Linked DNA regions of Homo sapiens: regions 1, 2, 3, 5 and 6 are each linked to region 4. Evidence: promoter capture Hi-C in 16 types of primary human blood cells and fetal thymus (Javierre and others, 2016). All regions are on one chromosome and are shown on one strand. The core of a region is centred on a gene start or on the middle of the fragment in contact, and the rest is flanking DNA. Distances in the headings are between cores, read along the strand shown.

Evidence for each region. Contacts are between HindIII fragments. The CHiCAGO score rates a contact against its expected background, and 5 or more counts as called.
Region 1: a contact is called between a fragment that was not itself captured here and the fragment with the promoter of LINC00609 in region 4, in 1 of 17 cell types (M2 macrophages). The highest score is 5.3, in M2 macrophages.
Region 2: a fragment that was not itself captured here is called in contact with the fragment with the promoter of LINC00609 in region 4 in 1 of 17 cell types (endothelial precursors); the score reaches 5.2 in endothelial precursors.
Region 3: a fragment that was not itself captured here is called in contact with the fragment with the promoter of LINC00609 in region 4 in 2 of 17 cell types (endothelial precursors and megakaryocytes); the score reaches 5.6 in endothelial precursors.
Region 5: a contact is called between a fragment that was not itself captured here and the fragment with the promoter of LINC00609 in region 4, in 4 of 17 cell types (M1 macrophages, M2 macrophages, M0 macrophages and 1 more). The highest score is 9.9, in M1 macrophages.
Region 6: a fragment that was not itself captured here is called in contact with the fragment with the promoter of LINC00609 in region 4 in 1 of 17 cell types (M2 macrophages); the score reaches 5.0 in M2 macrophages.

Annotation. Positions count from the first base shown.
Region 1 is chr14:36,380,919-36,384,961 of GRCh38, reverse strand. No RefSeq gene overlaps it. Among named protein-coding and RNA genes, the nearest start is that of MBIP, 62 kb to the right of the region's middle. The HindIII fragment of the contact is 5,190 bases long and covers 1-4,043 here.
Region 2 is chr14:36,522,688-36,526,667 of GRCh38, reverse strand. LOC105370453 (a long non-coding RNA gene) reads right to left here and starts at 1,979. Exons shown (of 3, transcript XR_001750715.2): 1 at 1,460-1,979. NKX2-1-AS1 (NKX2-1 antisense RNA 1) reads right to left here. Exons shown (of 2, transcript NR_103710.1): 2 at 3,652-3,980. RefSeq lists an enhancer at 864-1,802. The HindIII fragment of the contact is 1,126 bases long and covers 931-2,056 here.
Region 3 is chr14:36,363,983-36,367,929 of GRCh38, reverse strand. No RefSeq gene overlaps it. Among named protein-coding and RNA genes, the nearest start is that of MBIP, 45 kb to the right of the region's middle. The HindIII fragment of the contact is 1,584 bases long and covers 1,236-2,819 here.
Region 4 is chr14:36,068,532-36,072,309 of GRCh38, reverse strand. LINC00609 (long intergenic non-protein coding RNA 609) reads right to left here and starts at 1,883. Exons shown (of 3, transcript NR_073454.1): 1 at 1,625-1,883. The HindIII fragment of the contact is 3,305 bases long and covers 713-3,778 here.
Region 5 is chr14:36,560,625-36,564,698 of GRCh38, reverse strand. All of the region lies in intron 2 of LOC105370453 (a long non-coding RNA gene), which reads right to left. Among named protein-coding and RNA genes, the nearest start is that of NKX2-8, 20 kb to the left of the region's middle. The HindIII fragment of the contact is 1,678 bases long and covers 1,432-3,109 here.
Region 6 is chr14:36,541,763-36,545,477 of GRCh38, reverse strand. All of the region lies in intron 1 of LOC105370453 (a long non-coding RNA gene), which reads right to left. Among named protein-coding and RNA genes, the nearest start is that of NKX2-1, 23 kb to the right of the region's middle. The HindIII fragment of the contact is 8,986 bases long and covers 1-3,715 here.

The DNA.
Region 1 (4,043 bases), core at 405-2,904, 310 kb before region 4:
TACAAATGTATATTATTATCATTGGAATGCGAATTATTTTCTTAGATAATTTCCAAGGGATAGGTTTTGATGGGTAGAGGTATGATATTCTAAGTCTTCTCTACCAATAATTTTTAAAAATCTCTGACTTGTTCTCCAGCTGCTTCATGCTAAAAAGCTCAACTTCTTATAGGACAAAGGACAGCTGGGAAAAGAAATTAATGAGGAAATGTGTCACTTCTGTAAAAACAGGCATGAGTGAATGGGTCAGGATTATATGGGAACAAGGTATAGAAAAATACATAAAGCATGTGCTGAAAGCCTCAAATAGCACTTTTCATCTATTCCAGAGTCTTTGGTCAATGACACTTCTTTATATGAGATGGAGTTCTTTGGCACAGGACTTTTGTCCTTGTGAAAAACATGGCTTCTCTCTCTAGGATGCAAAGAAAATGTTTTAAAACTGGAATTTTTGTCATTAGTTTCCCAGGAAACCATTTTGGTTCTGATGCTAATTTGTGTATCTGACTGTTTTGACTGAAACTGAGGCCTCTTGCTCTAAGGGAGCAGAAGCAGAAGGAAAGGCTGCTTTGGGTTCCTGCCCACCAAGAGGGTGCCAGGCTGAGAATGCCAAGTCATCTCTCAGTTCCACCCTATGCTTGGTGCCAGTTGGCACCAGGCTTCTCAGTTGAGGTCACCGAGTGTGGGGCTGGGAGTTGGAGAATCACTTTCTTTTTTTAGTTCTGACTCCAAGAGAGTAGAGGTTGGGCCCAGCAAACACTCACTGCTGTCTGAGTTAGATGGAGCCAGCAGACAGGCCTGAGCAAGACAAACAGTTCACATCTTGAAATGGTTCTAAGTTTCCTGCTTAAGAAATGTTCTTTATCTCCTCCCTTAGATGGAATGATGTCCCTAGAGGGCATGGATACACCTCTACCAAGGCATCTACAAATGATCTGTATTTACATTTCTGTGGCTTTTTCTTTCGCTAAGTAGAACCTCAGTGATGATGGCTTTGAAGGGTGCGGCTTTGCGTGCCAAAGAATGTCGCATTCTCATTTAATGCCTTTAATGTTCCCTAAAGAGGTAGTTTGTTTGTGCATTTCAGCTCCAACTGCCTGGTTGAGAAGTAGGTTTGTTAGCTGCTGACAGTCCTGCTGACTTTCTGTAGGCCGTGCATAGCTCACACGCAGGACTCTCTCAGTCAGACCTGCTCTCGCATCTACATGCAGCACACAAAGGAGACCAAGGTTAACATGGTCTTGGTAAAAACCACTCAAGTGCCATGTAACCACCAAGTATGAACCCTGGACTAGACTACTGCTTACTTTATAGGCAAAAGCTCTCACATATATCTCAATAGCATTCTCTCTAGTATAGAATCATGCTGTTTAGTGATTCCAGTATGGTACTCGCTAGCCACATGTGGCTACTGAGCATGTGAATTATGGCCAGTCTGGTTTGAAATGTGTTCAGTATGAAAGCATACTAGAATTCTAAAGACTTAGTAGGAAAAGATAATGTAAAATATATCAATACTTTTTTGTATGAGTTGCGTGTTGTAATGATAATATTTTGGATAGATTGGGTTAAATAAAAACATGATTAGAATTAATTTCACTTGTTTCTCTTTCTCTTTTTATTGTGGCTGCCAGAAAATCTAAAATTACATAAGTGTTTCACATTATACTTCGATTAGGCAGTACTGACCCAGAGTGAGTATCACAATGCTCATTCATTCCCTCAGTCAGTGTTTATTGAGTGACTAACGTGCTAGAATAAAGACCCAGGCTGTGCTCTCAGAAGGCCGCCATTCCAGGAGAGAGGCAGCTATCTACAGGGGAATAGCCCAGGGGTGAGGGCCGGAACAGAATAACATGCAGAATAACAGGGTGAGTGCTATGGAAGCCCCAAGGAAAGGAAGACACTGGTGAAGAACATAATCATGGAAGGCTTCAAGGAGAAGCTGAGTTTTAAAACACACAGGAATTTTAGCAGTTAGAGGAAAAGAAGGCAGAAATGTGTGAAGAGGTACAGATATTGGGACATGCGTGGCATGTTTCAACAAAACACAAGTAGTTCAGCTGGGCGCAGCTTTTAGTACAAACAGGAGAGTCAATGGTGGAGATGAAGTCAAGAAGATAGGCTGAGATTTCAGTTTCTGAAGGGCACCCTGTGCCATGAAAAGGAGTTTGCACTTAGAATAAAAAGGAATTTAGGTTGTCTAACTGTAATTTTTAAGTGCCATACACCCAGAGACTTTGAGCCTGATGAGTTAGGCCTTGGAATCAGCATTTTTGAAAAGCATACTAGATGCAGACCCCACTTTGGAAAATGTTACTTCAGGTGAGAGGTGTTTAGTTCAGCAGTGACATGCTCATGCCTGCATTTATGAAAGATACTCTGAGAACATAAGGAAGATGTATGGGGAGTGGTCTCCTGAAGCTGTAGAGAGTGTCAGCTATTTCAATTATCAAGGTGAAAAATGATGAAGGTCTGCCTTAGTCAATTTGGGCTGCTACAACAAAAATACCACAGCCTGGGTGGCTTAAACAACAGAAATGTATGCCTCACAATTCTGAAGACTGCGAAGTCCAAGATCAAGGTGGTGGCTGATTCTGGTGAGGGCCCTCTTCCTAACTTGCAGAGGGACACTTCTTTATGTGTCCTCACTTGGCAAGGAAACACACACACACACACACACACACACACACACACACACACGGGGCGATATCTGGAGATATTTTGATTATCAAGGGGGAATGCTACTGAAATGTAGTAGGTGGAGGCTGAGATGCTGATATATGTCCTATAATGCACAGGACAGCCTCCTTCCTCCAAGAAAGAACTGTCTGGTCCAAAATGTCAATAGTATTTTGTGGAGAAACCCTGATTTAGCCAAAGGAAGCTGTCTTGCCCAATGTCACACTCCCTCCCCAGGGCCAGTCCACATCTAGTGCAGAGGTACAAAAACATGGCCCCCTTGGCTCAGTTTGGGATAACTCAGAAGTGCCGTCCCAGCACCAGCATTTTTTATGGGATTGGCTGATGTCTCTATTGCAAGCACATTGGAGTTCAGCTTCTCCCTCTGCCCGATCCTGCTTCCCTTACTTTCTAACAGGTGTTGTTTCAATAATTTCTCCAATAAACATCCTGCAAGCAACTATTTGTCTCAGAGTCTATTTCCTGAAACTTGATCTAAGACAGCTGGCACCAAGAATGGTCCTAGGATGCTGATCATAAAATAGAATTTAAAAAAATTGTATTTTAATAGCGTTAGGGGTACAAGTGGGTTTTGGTTACATGGATAACTTGTATAGTGGTTAAGTCTGGGATTTTAGTGCACCCAGCATCCAAATAGTGTACATTGTACCCGATAGGTAATTATTCACCCCACAACCCCCTCGCAACCTCCCTCTTTCTGAGTCTCCAATGCCCATTATATCACTCCATACCTTTGGACACCCATAACTTAGCTCCCACTTATAAGTGAGTATATGTGGTATTTGGTTTTTGATTCCTGAGTTACTTCACTTAGAATAATGGCCTCCAGTTTCATCCAAGTTGCTACAAAAGACATTATTTCATTCTTTTTTATGGATGAGTAGTATTCAATTGTATACAGATGATAGGCAGAGTAGATAGGTATATAGATAGATAACCACATTTTCTTTCTTTATCCATTGATGGGCACTTATGTTGATTCCATATCTTTGCAATTGTGATTGTGCTATGATAAACATATGCACACAGGTGTCTTTTTATATAGTGACTGACTTTCCTTTGGGTAGACACCCAGTAGTGGGATTGCTAAATCAAATGGCAGATCTACTTTTACTTCTTTGAGAAATTTCTATACTGTTCTCCATAGAGGTTGTACTAATTTACATTCTCACCAGTAGTGTATAAGTGTTCCCTTTTTATCACACCCATGCCAACATCGATTGTTTTCTGACTTTTTAATAATGGCCATTCTGGCTGGGGTAAGGTGGTATCTCATTGTGGTTTTAATTTACATTCCTCTGATTATTAGTGATGTTGAGCATTTTGTCATATGTTTGTTA
Region 2 (3,980 bases), core at 244-2,743, 450 kb before region 4:
CTTGGGGGGAAAAAACAAAACAACAAAAAACAGAAAATAAGGAGCTTACGGTCTGCCTAAAAAGAACACAAACACATGGCAATTAGGAAATCACTCAATTAAGAAATTGCTTATCAATGTAACAGAAAAGTGTAATAGAGATTCATCCATTTATTCTGCACACATATATTGAGCTCCCACTATGTGTCAGGCATTTAGTTGTCAGAAGAGGCAATTGGATTTTTAAAGAGAAGGATATGACTTAGTTGTGGGGCTGGAAAGAATGATTTTTCTGGCTAAGTGAAAAAGAATAGCAGAGTAACATGGGCATATTGGCTGGGATGGGTTTGGGAGGGTGGAGAGGATCTGGTTTTGACCAGAGTCCAAAGAAGGGGGAATAATTTGGGGGAAAGCCTGCCTGAGTGAGTTGGTACCGTAGATTGGAGAGCTGGAAGGCACCCATCGAGTGTAGCTAGTCCCAGAAGTTTTCCTACTCCAATATTTTCTAAAGGTTATGCTCCTACTGCTGCAACACAAGGCAGAACCCCCTTGTGTCAGGCTGTCAAGCTAATAGGGCCACTGCCTCCTCCAGAAAGGACATGCAGAAAGTGCAAGCTACTCCATTGGTCACCAAATATGCCTCCAAATGCCCTCTGACTTGGACAGGACATTCGCATAACAAAATTCCGAAGCAAAGCATAATTAAAAGAGGGTTTTAGGTACAAGAGCAGCTTCCAAGCCCTGATCTACACCTGGGCTCTTTCAAATAGCAGGTGCAAGGAGACTGGGTGATTCAAAGAGTCAATCATAACTTATATTGGCTTTGGGTGGACCGATAGACAGCCTGACGTATGGTCGGGCGGACAGTTAGAATGAGCGAATGCGTGGATGATGTACTACCAGTCTCCGACCACCACCAGTTTTCCCTAGCCGGAAACTAGTAGCAAAGCTTCCCCGAGACCGCTCTAAAGCTGCAGTTCTCCAGACGGCCGCCGGAAGAGGGCGCTGCGGATCGCCTCGGTCTGCAACCTTCAGACCCCAAGTCCTAGGCAGCGAGGGAGAATTCAGCCTCCCTCAAGTCCCAGAAAACATTGGGCCTCGGAGATTCCCCCTCCACCCTTCCCTCACACCCACCCCAATGGCCTGGGGTCGATACTGCGGCCACCGGAAACTGCCTGGGACAAGTGTTGGGGATGTGGGGGAGACGGGCTGTGGTGGGAGGTTGGAGAGGAGGAAAGGAGCGGAGGAGGGAACCCCAGCGCTGCTGGCAAGCCCGCGGGAAACTCGAACACCCAAGGCCCACGGGCTCCCACTGTTGGGACTGAGATTTGTTGGGGAACAGAGGGCAGAAAGAGCTATAGGTTTCGACTACCTAAAGCTGAATGAGGCTGCACAGGTCCTGGGGCGAAAACAGCCGCGCCGCCACAAGGATGCTTCGGGAATCTGTCCTTTAATTATCAGGAGCAGCTGCGAAACTTACCTTAGCGCAGCACGAACCCTAGAGCGCCCCCGAGGGTGTCCCTGCCCCTTCCGACGGGGGCGTCTGGCGGATTCGCGGCGTAGCACGGCAGCGCGGGCCTCACAGGGTCGGCTGACCGCTTCAGGCCCGTGCTCCTACCTCCCGTCTCCGTCTTGGTTTCCTCGCAATTCAAAGGGAGCTGCTGAGCTCCCGCTGTTCTCTGCTTTGTAACCCGCTCCCTCAGGTTCCCTCCTACCCCAGGCCCCTTCCCGCCAGAGGGCGCCCCTGGAGTCGGTGGAGAAGGTAGGGGCTCTAAATACAAAAATTCAAGACGAGTTGAATCTTGGCTTGAACTGCGTGACAGGAAAATAGGCAAGTTTGGAGACCACAGGTGTTAACTTCTAGTGGGGCTTGACCCGACAGAGGAGCAGATTCTTCAACACCAAAGGCCTAAGGGCCGGACTCTCTTCGCGGACTCTGGCCCTCATAGACGCGCCCTCGCCTCCCATACCCTCCGTAGAGCATGCCTGTGAGGGAAAGGGAGAAGCAGAAGCCGCGCTCGGATGACTTGGCGCCCCACCCCCCAGCCTGCCCACAGGCCACGAATTGAGAAAAGCTTTCCCAAAAGGAAAGTCCTCTCAAAGGCCCTAGACGGTCAAATCGGGAAAGGGAGCAGTAGAGGGATCCTTCCTCCCGCTGCGTCTGTGAAAGCCGCCTGTCTGCACGCCCCGGGCTCCCGCGGTCCCTCCCGAGGATTTCGGTTCTGGTGCCTGAGAAAGCAGCGCAGAGGGGGCCCTGCGAGACCCCTCCAGAGAAATCATCCCCCGGAGGCATTCCTCGGATCTTGGGGTTGCGGAGCAGCGCCCCCCAGCGCCCAGTTACACTCCTGCCTTCCGCTCCCTGCGCCTGGTTGCCTCGATGGCACTCGCGAGCCCAGCTCAGCCCGGCTTAGAAGCCTGTGCCTAGCTGTGGGAGACTGCGGGAGCAACTGAGGGGCCCAAGTGTTTCTTGTTGAAGGTCAGAGGCCTAGAGTCACAGTTTCTCTAAATCCAAAATACAGAATCAGAAGGAATAACTCCTTCTATTAGCGACTTTTGTGATCTACAAACTCAGGCACATGATCTCATCCTGAATTGTTTGGATCCCTAGCACAAACCAAGCCAGTACACAGGGCAGGTTGTGACCATTTTTTACAGCTCAGGAAACAGGTGCTCGGAGGCTGTGTTTCCTCAGCGTTTCTCGAGGCACTGGGGGGTTCAAAGATAGATAAAACAGGGGCTCACCCTCAAGGAGGGAAGCCAGAAAACACACACTGGTTTACTCTGGCTGTGATGGGAGTGACTCCAGGGTGTGGCGGGAGCCCACAAGAGCGGTACTGCACAGCTGGAAAAAGGCAAAGCCAGGGTTCAAACCTAGGACGGACTTCCACTCAAGGACTCCTCTCACGACCTTGGAATGCTGAGAGATCAAGAAATGGTGCAAAAACCCACACACGAATCTCCATTACAACCCTCTCTATCTCACTGGATCCTAGAGTAACATCTGTCAGAAAGTAACTACATATTATTTGGGTGATTTATTGTGAATGTGTAAGTTCCGTGTGAGTAGGAGCTGCATCTAGATTAAGTTTGAATTTTCAGGCCTTGCGTAGTCCCTGGCACAGAGCCCTAGCTGAATAAATACTGTCGAGTGAATCAAAAATTGCGATAAAACTTGGAGCAAAATAACACTACCAGGAGACAGAGTGGCTCAGCGCCCTAAACAGGTGTGGAGGACCACAAAGGGAGTTAGAAAAAGCAGTTGGGGGGTGGGGCGGTGAGACAGGTGGTTCCTCCTCACAGTTCCACCTGGTCCAAGCTACAGACCCCAAATTAGCCTTCTTTTGTATGAGCCCTCTGTTCTTGTCTCGCAAAGTGACACTGGAGGGAGAGAAAGGAGTTTCCCTGCGGCCACGCTGGTGTAAGCAAAGGCTGATGGCGATTCCGCGCATCTAGGGCCGAGCCTGGGCCTGCGCCCCCTCGGATTCCTGGCGGAGCCGCAGCCAGCGAAGCAGAGCGTGGTCGGAATAGAGGCAGCGACCGTGTGAGGTCGCGCCAGGGAAAGCTCCGCGAGGGGCCAGCGTTGGGCCCTGCCCTGCCCTGACCGCTCCCCACTGTGCCCACTCCACCCGGGAGCAAGCTAGTTGCGGGATAAAGGAATACGCGCAGACTTCGCAAAGTGCAATCGGGGTTCTTCGTATTCATGGAAAAAAAAATCACTGGTTTAGCCCGGGTCTGCCCTATTTAGGATGAGTCCAGGAGGCGGCGGAAAGAAAGGACGCTCTTCGGTCAGAGGGAGGTGTTTCGGGCCATGGGAGGGACTCTGGAGGCCTTTGCTTGGATAAGCTTGGAGATACAGATGTCCTTCTCTTCCCTACAAGGTGCGTTAGTCTCCGGGCTTATTTTCGGCAGTGCAGTGGTACTGGGGAAGAAGGCAGAGCCGCGTGTTGAGAAGGGGCTAGGGTAGTAGAGGCGCTGGAGCCTGGGCGGCAGGGCGCTGCAAA
Region 3 (3,947 bases), core at 778-3,277, 300 kb before region 4:
ACACATGCACACACACAGTCACACACTGGGCTGCAGGGACTTGCTTATCTTCATTCTGTCATCTCTGTATTAGGCAAGGAAACAGGCCTGGATTGGACGCTTACTAGAGTTTTTTTGCCATTCAGTTCCCTAGAGAACAGTGCAGTTTGATTATATTTGTATTTGTAGACAGGTGAGGATGACCTATTTAATCAATACATCTAAGGGCTAAGAGATAAGCTATATTATTCAGGTTCTGTAACAAAGCTTATGCTAATTTAACCTGACATGTAGCATGTTAGGTTAATATGATTTAGATTACATGTATCATTTTTAGAAATTGATGTTTTTGTTGCTGGTTTCTCCTGACATTTTTGAACTATAATATGTAATGCAATACTTCTCCAACAAAGAAGGTAATTCTTACTAGTGAAGGTAATTAATGGTTATTTGATCATATTACAGCATAGAAATCATGTTTTTGCCACACAATAGGTTTCCTAATTGGTGATCCAAGGATGACCACATTCATTTTCTGCCCATAGAGATTTCCCACTGTGCATGGATTATCTCTTAATATTGTGATAGCAGCAAATAATGGTTATAGCCAGTAAGAAAATTAATTTACAATGCTTCAACAATCATTATAAAAGACCTAATAATGCTAATTTAGGTGTAGGATGAGTCATCCAATTAGTTAATTAAATAGAACCGTGCTGCCAGTCTCCTATAATGGAGCACACTGTGTTGTAGGTGTTTGATAGAGATGAGCAATGCCAAGGGAAGGTAAAAGAGTACACACTGGCCCCCACAAATGCATGTAATGTTTATACTTATGAAAGCACAAGCAAAGGTAATCACTTTGCCAAAAATCAGAAACAGTCATTTTTTAAATAGTTATTTTGCTCTTATTTTACGAAGAAAAAATTTTGCTGGTCTATTTGTTAGCTTTATAACTTCCAAGAATGTTTTTAAATTTTGATTTGATTTATCAAGTCCAAAATGCTCCCATAAATTTATTACCCTTTGGTTTTTCTTAAAGAAAATAATAAAATCACTGTCATTGGGTTGAACACTACCAATATCTCCATCTATTTAACTTCTTTTAGTTGCAGTAACTTGTATCTAATTCATAAAACTCATATGCCCATGTGGGCCATAACAAATGGGGGTTGCAAAGTTTAATTAGCTTGTCTAGCCGGTGGTCCCACATAGCTTAGGATTCAGAGGTCCTAGTTATTTCTCCCCTGTAAGCTTTTGTTATTTCACACTAATAGGTTTTTGTATTTTTAGTCTGTCTTCATGTGAGAAGTACCCTGCCCCTTCAGTGAGTTTAGCTGCTTTTTCCTAGGCAATGCCAGATGTCCTGATCCTCTTTGGGGTGAAGAGGGGGAAAGCATTGGTATAACCAGAAATCACATATTTCTCATTTGAATACAATGTAATTGCTCAGAAAGAACAACTGTCTCTACCAAGAGGGTGAAATACTTCTTTTCTAACTGCCAGCTTGGAATAACTAATTTTAAATGTTTTGTGTTATAAAGTAGGAAATGTTTTCTTTTTTATTAAAAAAAGATATTGAACATGAATACAATAAAAGCTATCTAATGATTGAATGGAAGTTCAACATTTTTTTGAAGAGTTTACAAACCACAATAGATTTTCTTCCTGTCAATTCAAATATTCATAGGTCATACAGGCTGGCCTCCTACCACAGTGTACCTATAATTCCTTATTTTAAAATACTAATTAACTTTTAAGCATAAGTCTTTTAGCTCTGGATACGGTACTGCCTATATGAAGCAAATAACACGACTGAGGTGAAGAATGGTGTTTCTTGGAATAGGTATTGTTTGCCAAGCTGTATGCAAGAGCCCTACAGAAAGTAGAAAAAGACGTTATAGAAGAGTAAGCAGACATTTTTACAAGGTCACTTCATTCAGACTGGAAAGTGGCCAGCACAATGTCATTATTTACAACAGGATCTGGGAACACTTGAGGAAATTACAGACCATTTAGTTTTGATTCCATTGTAGGGGGCAAAGTCTTAGGAAGTATTTTAGGAGATTAAATGGGGAACACTGAGAAAAGCACAGCTTGATTAAGGATAGCCAATGCAGTCTCTGGAATGAAAAAGTCATGCTTCAATAATTTTTTGACTTCTTTAAGGAAGTAAATGCCAAGAAAATCAAATGAATGCCTCAAAATTCTCTATTCTAAATTTCCAGGAGGTGTTTGTTAAAGTTTTGCTTGACAAATTAGCACACACAAAGAAGTGGTTCTTAAAATTGGAGAAATGCAGGGGACAAAGATTAATCGTGCATTAAATTGTCCTTAAAATGAGATGGAATCACAGGACCAAAAGAATTTTACTGAGACAAAGACATTATAATAGTCTGAGTATTTATGATCAGCATCGGCATCATGTTTTTGTGCCTTTATTATGTAATTAGACAGAATTTTTCCAGAAGGCAATGGAAAAAATGGAAATCTTTGACTTTCAAGAATACATGGTCTAATAAAGATAACACTGATTCAGGTTTATCTAAGTAGACAGAGAACTAGACAAACATAACAAAAACTTAGTAAGACTAACTCTTAGATGGCTAATAGTGAGGAAAACATGCTGGTTTTTAAAATTCAGGACAAGCATTCATAGAACTTCTCTTTGGGCAAGGGAGGCAAAGCGGCTATGTTTGCCGGAAGGGCAAACCTTCTAACCATCAAAGGAACAGCAGAGCAGGGCCTTTTCTGGGCATGAGAGGGCTCTGTCTGGAAGGTTATCCATGTTCCCAGTCTAGGTAGCTGGTAGAAGGGTGATTGTCCTTGAAGGACAAGCTTCAACTACACATGAATTGGAAGTTAACTGAAAATGAAGAGGGAGTAGACCAAAAATGAGCAAACAAAATTGGGGTACCGGATTATAAGGCATCTAAGTCCTTTCCAATTCTAAAATACTGTGATCTCCCAGGGGATCCTCAAAGAATCTTTTCAAACTAGACAGGAAAGATTTCCTGCTGAGTAAAGTGAACTAGGGATGTATATAAACATCCTCTAGAAGGCAAGATTGCTGATATAATAATAGGGGAGAAGAGTTCACTATATAGCTGACATTTATTGAGTGCTTACTCTGTCCCAGGTGCTTTGCTAAGTATTTAACATACATTATCATTTACTTTAATCCTCTCTAAAATCCTAACAATAGGTAGGTACTATAATTATCCCCATTTTTCAGTTGAGGAAACTAAATTAGAGAGGGGATTTAAGTTGCTTAAGACTCACATGGGGCTGGGCACAGTGGTTCACACCTGAAATCCTAACACTTTGGCAGCCAAAGCAGGAGGGTCACTTGAACCCAAGGGTTTGAGACCAGCCTGGGCAATATAGTGAGACCTTGTTGCTATAAAAATTAGCCAAGTGTGGTGTCATGCACCTATAGTTCCAGCTACTTGGGAGGCTGAGGTGGGAGGATTGCTTGAGCCTGGAAAGTAGAGGTTGCAGTGAGCACCACTGCACTCCAGCCTGGGTGACAAGAGTGAGACCGTTCTCAAAAAAAAAAAAGAAAAAGAAAAAAGATTCACATGGCCAGTTAAGTATAAGTTACTGCAGCCAGTTATTTTAAGCCAGTATATGAAAGTGCTTCAATTTGCCTGATCATAAGACTTGTCTAAGGTACTTGACAAAAACAAAAACAAAAACAAAAAACAGACATTCTAGGCCCCTCTCCTGCAGTTTCTTTCTAGAGTAAGGCCTGAGATTTAACATTTTTACAAGCAACCAAAGTGGGTCTTATGATCAACCCTATTTGAGAAACAGTGCCGTAATACCATAAAAGCCTCCCAGAAAATCAGAGTTGGGTATTCCAAAGCCTAGCAGATGCTGGCAGCTAAAAGCTATATGATACAAGGCATGGAGTATCCACCCTCCAAGAGGGCCAGGAGCCTACAGCCCCCACAGCAGCACAATTC
Region 4 (3,778 bases), core at 634-3,133:
AGGCAGGTGGATCACTTGAGGCCAGGAGTTCAAGACCAGCCTGGCCAACATAGCGAAACCCCGTCTCTACTAAAAATACAAAAATTAGCCAGGCATGGTGGCATGCACCTGTGGTCCCAGCTACTCAGGAGGCTGAGGCATGAGAATCGCTTGAACCCAGGAGGTGGAGGCTGAAGTGAGCCAAGATCGTGCCACTGCACTCTAGCCTAGGTGATGGAGTGAGACGCTGTCTCAAAAAATAAAAAGAGAGAGAGAGAGGGAAAGAAAGAAATTATTTGCTATATAAGGATTGTTGTTAGGAGGAAATCAACACTATAACTGTTTGTTTCTGTCTTTGACTCTGGTTAAATTACTGTACGTCCCGCCAGCATACCTGATTTCTATTGATAGGGGTAGCACAGCCTCGTAGTTATGAGCATGGATCAGAAGCTAGGGGCTGGTTTAAATCTTGATCTGCCACTTACTAGCTATGTTTCTTACCTCTCTGAACCTTGGTTTCCTCATCTGTAAAAGGGGCTCATCATAGTTGTGAGGAGAATTAAGTGAACTAATATTTGTGCCTGGTATGCAGTAACCACTATGTATGTTTTTGAAATAAATAAATGTTGTTGGAGTGAAACCCCCCAACACATCTCTAATGCCGCCTTGTGACTAGTGGATTAAGTGAGCACTTTGAAAATATGTATTACTTGAGTGATTAAATTGCCAAGCTTCCCCATTTCATTTACATCTTATTTCCATTTCTAGTGAATCATTCCTTCTAAGCACAAGGTTGTGAAAGGAAATCTTGAACACTAATAATAGCATTACAAGCTACTATAACCAGGGCTTACTTACATGATTATCACCAAAGCTCCAATAAATTTCTCAATTTAAATATTAAAAATCAGTCAATGATCTGTTAGCTGGAAAATATCTGGGGTGAAAGAGTGATTACCACTAAAAAATAGATTGAAGTCATTGCTGCTTTTAGAGCCTAGAAAAATACAAAGATCTGTTATTCTAGGTAAGTTACTTACTCTCTCTGCCTCCTTTATGGGCTGCTGGAAGGATTAAATGATTAGTGTGTGAGAAATGCTTAGAACAATGCCTGGCTCAAAGTAAGTAATCAATAAATGCCAGTTCTTATTATCACAGGTATTCTGAATACAGGTTGTGGCGATCAGGAGCTTTGATGACCATGGCAGGTGGCAATGCCCCAAAGTGCAGAAGACGTCAATTCCTCTTCCATATCCCCAGTCAACACACACATTCCCCTCCACAACCAAGAGAAGTGGGCATTAAAGAAAGGAAGGGCAAGAGGAACGACAATTCTAAAAGATCACCAAGGTGTATAGTCTGAATTATTTGGACTAGTTCTGCTGTGATCTTAGCCAATTGACCCTCTGCCCTAATTTCCCCACCTGAAAAAAAAGAAGGCCAATTTATTAAGGGTTTCTGATGCGTGGGTGAAAGAGGCTGTTAACACTCGAAAGTATTATAGATTAACAATCTTTCTAACCATTTTAAATATTAGCAAATGTTCCAGCTCACAAAGTGCCATGGTTTTAGTGGCCTGGAAAACGCTGCAATTTGTTCAAACATCAGTGGGTGTTATTTCTGGATGTTAATCAGTACCATTTACCTTGAGAACCTGGAAAATGTGTGGACTGTGCAAGTCCGCCATCTGCTGGTCCTGGAGACTCTGCGCCGCAGGGCAGAGATGCTTGTCCAATGCGGCCGGCACAGGAGCTCCTTGGAGAGCAGCAAACCAGCCAAAGCTGTTCCCACCACCTCAGGTCCTGATGCTGAATTATCACAGTGAACATGTTGCTTTCCCAAAGGGAGGTGATTTGTTTGAGAGGGTATGTGTGTGGTCTTTAAATAGTTTTGTTCTTTGTGCTTACATTATCATCTAGGAAGAAAAGATAATTTATTGCATCTCAGAAATGAAGCGACTCTGAGATAGCATCTATTTCAAATGCCTCATTTTACACAAAAGAAAAAATGTGGCCCAAGAGTCAGACAACTTTCCCAAGTTACTCAGCCAGTAGTGGCAGGACAGTATCCCCAAGGCTCATGCCTGGACACTTACTCTCGCTACCTTGGAGAAGGTGAAGGAGGGCAGAGGAATCTGCCAAAACAAAGAAAACTTCCCAGCCAGTGTCCTGGGTCACTGTATACGTCTTACTGACATGGCACTTTAGCCATAGTTTGCAAAGAGCTTTAACTTCTCTTCTTATATCCATATAAAAACTTTCACCTCTGATTGTAGCCAAAAGCCAAAGCCCTTTTATGCCCTATTGCACTTATGAAAGGGGAAAAATGCAAGTAAGGATACTTTATCTTGTGATTATTTTCACTTCCTGAAAAGCCAAAGATCTAGCAGTTTAATCACAAAGTCTGTCCTGTCATTCAGCAGCAGATGCCAGCCTCTTGCCCGGCAGCCACCAGAATAGAAGAACCCTACAGGTCAGAAAGTCTACACTCTTATTTCTCCACCAGAGAGAGGTCTCTCTTAGTTTATACAGGCCAACTATTTTTTTTTAATTGGTCTTAGTCCAATAATGACATATTTGCCTGGGTCACCTGCCAGCCAACCAGGAGCGCTCATTCAGCTGGGGTGTGGATACAGAGAAATTCTAGTGCCATCCAACAGAGGGCAGTAGTGCACAGACACATAACCACCCTGCTCAGCTCTCTCCTATCAGAAAAAAGGGGGTGGGGGACACAGGTGCATATTCTTACTGCTCTGACTCTGTCCTGAGAGTGGAGCCAAACATTTTTCAGATGCCAAAATCAATCTTAAAAGTCAATGATCTGACAAGGACAAATATTAATCGCTAATTCCTGTTTCCCCCCACTTCATGACGCTCAGCTTCATACTCTGCCCCTGAGCCTCCCAAACCAAAGTTCTTTTATCACGTGACAGAGACACAAGCCTTGGATCCATCTGAAAACAAAGCTGACAAGTTTCTCACCACCTAGCAACACAAAAAACTCTAAACACAATCCAAAGAATCCCCAAGGGAAACAGCTTCAAGAATCTTGAAAATCATACCTATTTTTGTTTGTAATGTGTGAAATTATTACAAGTATGTTCACCAAGAGGACTATTGATGGATGACTCACAATTTAGCTAAATTCAATGAACCACACACTGTGCCTATCCCAGTAGGTGACTCATGCATTTTTTATTTCAAGTATCAAGTGTTTGCCAAAAACAGTATTTAAAAAAAGTAATGAAAATTGTTCTGAAAGAGCTCATGAATAGGGTAGGACTACCCACCGACAACCTCATTTGTGCTCTGACCACTTACATGGGATTTGGTGGGTCTGCTACAGCAGCGCTCGACAGAGAGTGCGCTCCCCACAGCAACGGTGGCAGGCGGAGGGCAGGCTCTGCAACTCACCACACGTGGTTATCTCCCTCAAACCCACATCTCAGCAAGGATTCTAAAGCCCAATGATGTGTATGTGTTGCGGGGGGGGGGCAGGTACATACAGGTTTTGCTAAAACATATTAAAAATAAATGCATACATCCATTCAATTCCTGTTTGTCTTCTATTGAGCTTATCATTTCTCCCCCTACCTTTTTTAATTTAAGAAATCTAATTATCAGAGAAAAATGGAGGGAATGAAAGGTCACTGAGCAGAAATAATGAAAATGATTGCTGGTGAGGAACAGTTAAGGGGTGTAGACTTTATTCTGACCATTAGTGTTTTCGTGTGCACCTGCTACTAGGCTATTCACAAAACCCTCAGTAAGAGTCCCCCTTTCTCAGCCTGCTTCTCTGA
Region 5 (4,074 bases), core at 1,021-3,520, 490 kb before region 4:
AGATCTACTTTCTTAGCAAATTGCAATTAATCAATACAGTGTTATTAACCACAGTTACCATGCTCTTTGTTGGATCTCTGAACCTATTCATCTTAAATCTGAAAGTTTTTACCCTTTGACTGACATTTCCCCATTTCCTTCACTCCCAACCCCTGACAACTACATTTCTACTCTGATTTTATGAATTTGACTTTTTTAGATTCCATATATAAGTGAGATCATACAGTATTTGTCTTTCTCTACCTGGCTTATTTCACTTAGCATTATGATCTCCAGTTTCATCTGTGTTGTGTATGGCAGGATTTCCTTCATGTTTATGGCTGAATAAACATTCCATTCTCTCTATAAAACATATTCTTTATCCATTCACCCATGGATGGGCATTTAGGGTGTTTATATATCTTGACTATTTTAAATAATGCTGCAGTGAACACAAGGGTGCAGATATTTCTTCAAAATACTGCTTGCATTTCCTTCAGACATATACCAAGAGTGGGATTGCTATATATATGCTAGTTCTATGTTTAACTTTTTGAGAAATCTTTCTACTGTTTTCCATAATGACTGTGCCAATTTACATACCTACTAACAGTGCACAAGCATTGTCTTTTCTCCATATCCTCTCCAGCACTTTTTATTTTTCATCTTTTTGATAATAGCTATCCTAACAGGTGTGAGGTAATAGCTCATGTGATTTTTTTTTTTAAGATAGAGACTTGCTCTGTCATCTAGGCTGGAGTGCAGTGGCATAATCATAGATCAATGCAGCCTTAAATTCCTGGGCTCAATTGATCCTCCCACCTCAGCCTCCTGAGTAGCTAGAATACAGGTACATGCCACGATGCCTGGCTAATTTTAAAATCTTTTGTAGAGACGAGGCACTGTGTCGCCCAGGCTGGTCTCAAACTCCTGGCCTCAAGTGATTCCCCCTGCCTTGGCTTTCCACAATGCTGGGATTATAGGCATGAGCCACCATGCTCAGTCCGTCATTGTGATTTTGATTTGCATTTCCCTAATGATTTTATCTGCACATTTGGTTTACTAGCTATACTTGTTTTGTTTTTCAAAAAATTAATAGCTGCTCTAGGGTGTACAGTATACATCTTTAACTTATCACAGTCTACTTTCAAAAAATATTATACCATTTCATGTATAGTTTAAGAACCTTACAAAGGCATCCTTCCAAATTCCCCCTCATTCCTTTGTGCTATTGTTCTCAGATATTTTGCTTCTGTGTATGCTGTAAACCTTATAATACAGAGTTGTTAGTTTTGCTTATAGTCGATTACCTTTTAAAAACATTTTCTAAATCAGAAAAAACTTTTATATGTATTCACATGTTTACCATTTCTGGCACTTATTTCTTTGTGTAGATCCAGGAATCCTTTATTTCTTGTTGTATAGGGCTACTGGCAATTAACTTTCTAAGCTTTTGTTATCGTTGTTCTTTTTTAAAAAATTGTGGTAAGAACACTTAACGTAAGAGCTACCCTCTTAACAAACTTTTAAGTGTACAATACAGTATCATTAACTACAGATTGGACAATAGTTTTATAGAACTTAACCAACTTACAGAACTGAAATTTTATAATTGTCGAATAGCAACTCCTCCCCTCTTGTTGATCTTAAAATGGTTTTCTTTCACCTTGATTTTTGAAAGATATATTTTCATGGGTGTACTATTCTGGGCCAACAATTTATTTTATTTTATTTTTCTGTCAGCACTTTAAAGACGTTCTGTTGTCTTCTGACCTGTGTGGTTTCTGGTAAGTCAGCTGTCATTTTTTATCTTTGTTTCTCTTTATGTGGTGTATCTCTTTCCCCTGACTGCTTTAAAATGTTTTCTCATTATTAATGGATTTCAATAACTTGATTATGAAGTGCCTAAAGAGGTTTAGTTTATATTTATTCCGCTTGGGGTTTTTGGATCTATGTTTTTTTTAATTTCAACAAATTTGGATTTTGGGGGCCATTATTTCTTCAATTACATTTTATGTCCACTTCTCTTCCCCAAGTCTTCTCTCCTGCTAGGACTCCAGTTAAATGAATATGAGACACTTTGATTAGTCCCACAACTCACTAAGATCTTGTGCCATTTTTTTTTCAGTATCATTTTCTCTTTGTGCTTCATGTTGGTTAGTTTCTATAGCAGTGTCTTCAAGTTCAGTTTTCTTTCCTGGTATGGCATGTTTTACCTCTAGAAGTTTTATTTGGCTCTTTTTAAATCTTCCATTTTTCTCCTCATCAAGTTTATGTTTCCCTTTACATCTTGACCATATTTATAAGATTGTGGTACTTGTTTTAAGGTTCTTGTCTATGAATTCCATGATGTATGGCTTTTCTGGGTCTGTTTCTGTTAATTGCTTTTTATTCTGGTTATGGGTAATATTTTTCTGCATCTTTTAAGACCTGGTAATTTTTAATTGGATACAAAATTGTAAATTTTGCTTTCTTTGCTACTGGCTTTAATGTATTCCTTTAAAGATTGTAGAGGTTTTTTGTTGTTGTTGTGGTTTTGTTTTTCCTGGCATCCAGTTAAGGTACTTCAGTATCATTTAAGGTTGGATTTTAAGTTTTTTTTTTAGAATGGGTCCAGAGAAACCTTTATTTTGGGACTAATTGAGTTCCCTCACTAGGCATGAGCCTTCTGGGGGTGCTAACTATTGTATGGAGTCTCTTTATTTTGGTTAGTGGGAACATGAATGCCTTCCAATTCTGTGTGATCTTCAGAATTGTTCTGGGAAGCCTTTTCCCAGCCAGGGGGTGTTTTCTCTTATGTATGTTCAGATTAATACTCAGCCAAAGTCTCAAAGGGACTCCTCTTCAGATCTTCAGAGATTTTTCTCTGTGCAACACTCTTTTTTGGTACTCTGCCTTATAAGTTCTAGCCATTTTGGTATCCTCAGACCTGATCTTGATCTCTTTAGCTCAGCAGGCATGTCAGGTTCTTTATGTTCTCCTGCCTGCGCTGTGGCTAAACACTGGCTCTCAGTAGTAAGCTAGGACATCCTAAAGTGCATCTCTTTTTTTCCCTTCTCTCAGTGATCAGTCCTATGCTGCCTATTGTCCAACATCTGAAAATGATTATTTCATCTATTTTCATCAAGCTTTCGAGTTGTTTATAATTGAAGAGTGATTCCTATTACTGCTAATTCTCCTTGGTCAAAGGAGAAGTCCCTCGGTTAGATTTTGCCCCACCATTCTGCTGAAACTCTTTGCATGAAGGCCACCAATGATCTCCAGATTGCTAAATCTAATATTGCCTGTATTTAAGATTCACAAAAGACAGTTAACTCTCCTTCAGAACTCATAAAACTATACAGATGGCAGAAGTAGAATGACATGTAAGAGCACTGAGTAAACCTATTTAGCACTTTATTTTTATTTTATTTTATTTTTCATTTTGGACACTTCAAGACCATTGAGTACTGTTTAGCACTTTAAATAAAATTAGTCATGAATTCTTAAAAGTTTCATAGACAGCGTGGAGCTTACCTAAGTGAAATGCACTTGTTTGGAAATGCACCTGGGATATTGTTTTTATTCAGGTATGGTGAGGCCAACACATGAGGAGACAGTTGCCACTGAAAAGGTAGTCTGTTTCTCACAGTTCTCAGGAGGAGGGAGCTTGCAGTACCACACAGGGACACATAGATTTCGAAATGTGGGTCAGAGGAGAGGCAGAAAGAGAAAAGGGAAAGCACGGGCAGAAGCCTTGATTGTGGTTGTCATGGGAAAGGATGGGAGAGAAAGGGTAAGGAGCAAAGCAGGGGTAGGATTGGATGGTTTGAATAATTTCTATGGGCTCTGGGCTATTGGGGTGGTCCTCAGTTGTCCACTGCATGGCCCTGGAATGATTAGAGCAGAGGAATATTGCCTTCTGAAGTGTAAAAACCAGCTAGAGATGGTTTGAAGTAAGAGTTCTGGACTAGTTAGTTTGCATACGAAAGGCATGCTCACAGGCAAGTTGTTTGCTATCTCAGAAATTAATTAACCCTGGGAGGGGCAGGTCCCAAGTTGTCAAAGCATCATAAAATGCAGAAAAAAAAACATGACTGATACACAACTATAACA
Region 6 (3,715 bases), core at 777-3,276, 470 kb before region 4:
GGCGTGACCTCGTATTAGCTGCTATTCTGATACTTTATTTGTCAGCACTGATTCAATAGCGGGCAGAAAAGGCTCATAGGAGATTATGCAGAAAGGCTAGGCTACACTTTACAGCCTTTCTCAAGCCATCAGGGCAAAGAATTGATGCTTACTTACATCCATAATTATATGTGGCATTTTGGCTCTGTAATTAAATTCAAAATAAATCACATGCAGCAATTTGTTAAATTTAAATGCTCTTACAAAAAAACAAATAAGAAGATCAGTGAATGAAATGAGTTTCTGAACTTAGGGGTATGATTTGAAGAAAGATTGTCATTCACTCGAACTAGCAGGGTTTGTGGCTGCAAAAATAAACCCAGTAATAATTCTGCTGAATCTAGGATGTGATGAGGCCATTAGAATCTGTGCCATTGGGCCGGGTGTGGTGGCTCACGCCTGTAACCCCAGTACTTTGGGAGGCCGAGGTGGGCAGATCATGAGGTCAGGAGATTGAGACCATCCTGGCTAACATGGTGAAACCCTGTCTGTACTAAAAATACAAAAAATTAGCTGGGCGTGGTGGCGCGTGCCTGTAATCCCAGCTACTTGAGAGGCTGAGGCAGGAGAATCGCTTGAACCGAGGAGGCGGAGGTTGCAGTGAGCTGAGATCCTGCCACTCCACTCCAGCCTGGGTGACAGTGAGACTGTCTCAAAAAAAAAAAAAAAAAAAGGATCTGTGCCATTGGATTGTATTATACAGGAAATAACTGCAGTAAACCCTCATGTATGAGAAACTCAAAACTTTAAGTTCAAAATAAGTAATGTTGGCAACCCCCTTTGGGTCCCCTCCCTTTGTATGGGAGCTCTGTTTTCACTTTATTTCACTCTATTAAATCTTGCAACTGCACTCTGCTGGTCCATGTTTGTTACGGCTCAAGCTGAGCTTTCGCTTGCTGTCCACCACTGCTGTTTGTCGCGGTGGCGGACCGCCGCTGACTTCTATCCCTCCGGATCCGGCAGGGTGTCCACTGTGCTCCTGATCCAGCGAGGCACCCATTGCCGCTCCCGATCAGGCTAAAGGCTTGCCATTGTTCCTGCACAGCTAAGTGCCTGGGTTCGTCCTAATCGAGCTGAACACTTGTCACTGGGTTCCATGGTTCTCTTCCGTGACCCAAGGCTTCTAATAGAGGTATAACACTCACCGCATGGCCCAAGATTCCATTCCTTGGAATCCGTGAGGCCAAGAACCCCAGGTCAGAGAACACGAGGCTTGCCACCATCTTGGAAGCTCTGTGAACAAGGACCCTCCGGTAACATTTTGGTGACCATGAAGGGACCTCCAAAGCATTTGTCTCTTCCAGAATCAAAGCTGAAAAACTACAAATCATTCTTCAAATGGAGCCCAGATGCAGTCTTTGACTAAGAGCTACTGCGGACCCCTGGACTGGCCTGCTAGCCCATGCTCCGATGTTAATGACATCCAAGGCACCCCTCCCCAGGAAATCTCAACTGCGCAACCCCTACTATGCCCCAATTCAGCAAGAGCAGTTAGAGTGGTCGTCGGCCAACCTCCCCAACGGCACTTGGGTTTTCCTGTTGAGAGGGGAGACTGAGAGACAGGACTAGCTGGATTTCCTAGGCCAACTAAGAATCCCTAAGCCTAGCTGGGAAGATGCCCGCATCCACCTTTAAACACGGGGCTTGCAACTTAGCTCACACCCAACCAATCAGAGAGCTCACTAAAATGCTAATTAGGCAAAAACAGGAGGTAAAGAAATAGCCGATCTATTGCCCGAGAGCACAGTGGGAGGGATATAAACAAGGATTGGAATATAAACCCAGGCATTTGACAACCCCCTTTGGGTTCCCTCCCTTTGTATGGGAGCTCTGTTTTCACTCTATTTCACTCTATTAAATCTTGCAACTGCAAAAAAAAAAAAAAAAGTAATGTCGATAGTCTGGTTTTAATGTATTTTCCAAAATAATTTAAGGTCTCTTAAGAATTATATGTAATATTTATTAAAATCCAGCATAATTTTTCCTAGTCCTTCAGAAGAAGCTAAGATACAAAGAAGAGAATTATCCAAATCAGCATCAGAACCTGGATAAATCAAAATAACTATGTATAGCACCACTACTTCATGCTTACTGAAGCATGTTTTAGCATGTTTTTAGCATATTTTTCAGCTTAAAAGCACTCTTATATACATTACATAGGTATAGGTGTCCCTAGAGAGTCCAGAAAAAGACTTTTAATTTTAGTCATCTTAAGATGCTTGCTGTCAGTTGGGGAAGTCTGACTGGGTAGGACACGGTGAATGGGGCAGCCTAGGGCCAGACTTGCCCAGTGGACTTGGAAAGTAGGACAGGGGTTGATAAGGGGATTTTTCTAAGTGTTGTCATTGAAAGAACTTCACGTTCCAGAACCTGGACATTATGCATGAACGATGTAGCAGAATTATTACTCTATGCGGAGGAGTGTAGTGTGTGCTGGTGTGGTTGGGGGTGTAAAGTCTTCACTTTTCCAGCTAGGCGCAACATCTTGCTCTGGGCACGCTAACAAGAGGGGCTAAATTTCTAGTGTGCCCCCCCGCCATGTGAGAGAGGCAAAGGAAAGCCATATTTGTCTACCTACATCTTTATCATGTCTACAAACTTTGCCCTGCTTATTGGCTGCTTTAGGAGTAAATCAAAGTAAAATCAACCTTGAACCAAGTCTAAGTTATTGTTCTTGCCCATCCGTGAACCTGAAACAAACTTTGTGGTCTGCTGAATGCAGTGTCGTCAGCTTCCATGGCTTCCATGCCTGAAGCCAGGCTCCCAAAATCTGAATTACAGGTATTTCAGTCCATTCTAAAGTTATTTTTAGAAAACAAGCAAATATAATGCTCCAACTTCTCATGGAAACAATCCACAAAAGACAAGCAGCTTCTGCAATCAGACTTCTAAAAAATTCCATTTTACCTAAGAAAACTTGGTGGATACTTACTTTACATTTCTTTTTAACCAAAGGACTGATTCTTATTTTCCCAAAATGAAAGGAGTCTTTTCTAAAGGTTGATATCTACCATATTATATCTGCCATATTCTCTGTTAGAGGCAAGACAGTAAGTCCAGCCCACACTCAGGAGGGGATTGCACAAGGAAATGAATCTCAGAGAGTGGGATCAGAAAGGGGGACATCTTCCATGCTTCTTACCACAATATTCAGGGTCACTAACAGTCAAAGAAACACAAACAAAGTACCATTTTAATTGCTTGTATTAAAAAACTTTGGAAATAATAATATCCAGGAATTGCCAAAGTATTATGAAACATGCTTTGTTAACAGCAAATATAAATTGATATGGTGTTTTGGAAAGCAATCTATAAATACACATTAAGATCCATAAAATATTCCAATCTTTTAAATACTGTAATCCTACTTCTAAGAATCTATCCTAAGGAAATAATTATAAAAACAAAAAATAAAACAAAAAATCTGTATGTATGGACATGTCTATTGCAGTATTATTTATAATAGTAAAATTGAGGGCAATGGTAAAATACTATCAGAAAGGATCAATTAAATAAACATGTTCATCTACTTTATAAAATTTTATATAATTGTTTTTAAGATCATGGTATAACTGTGAAATACTTAGAATTTAATATAAAATTTAAAAAAAAGATATAAAACTTTGTATAAATAATAATTATTATCAGGCAAAAATATATGTAAGAATAAAAGACT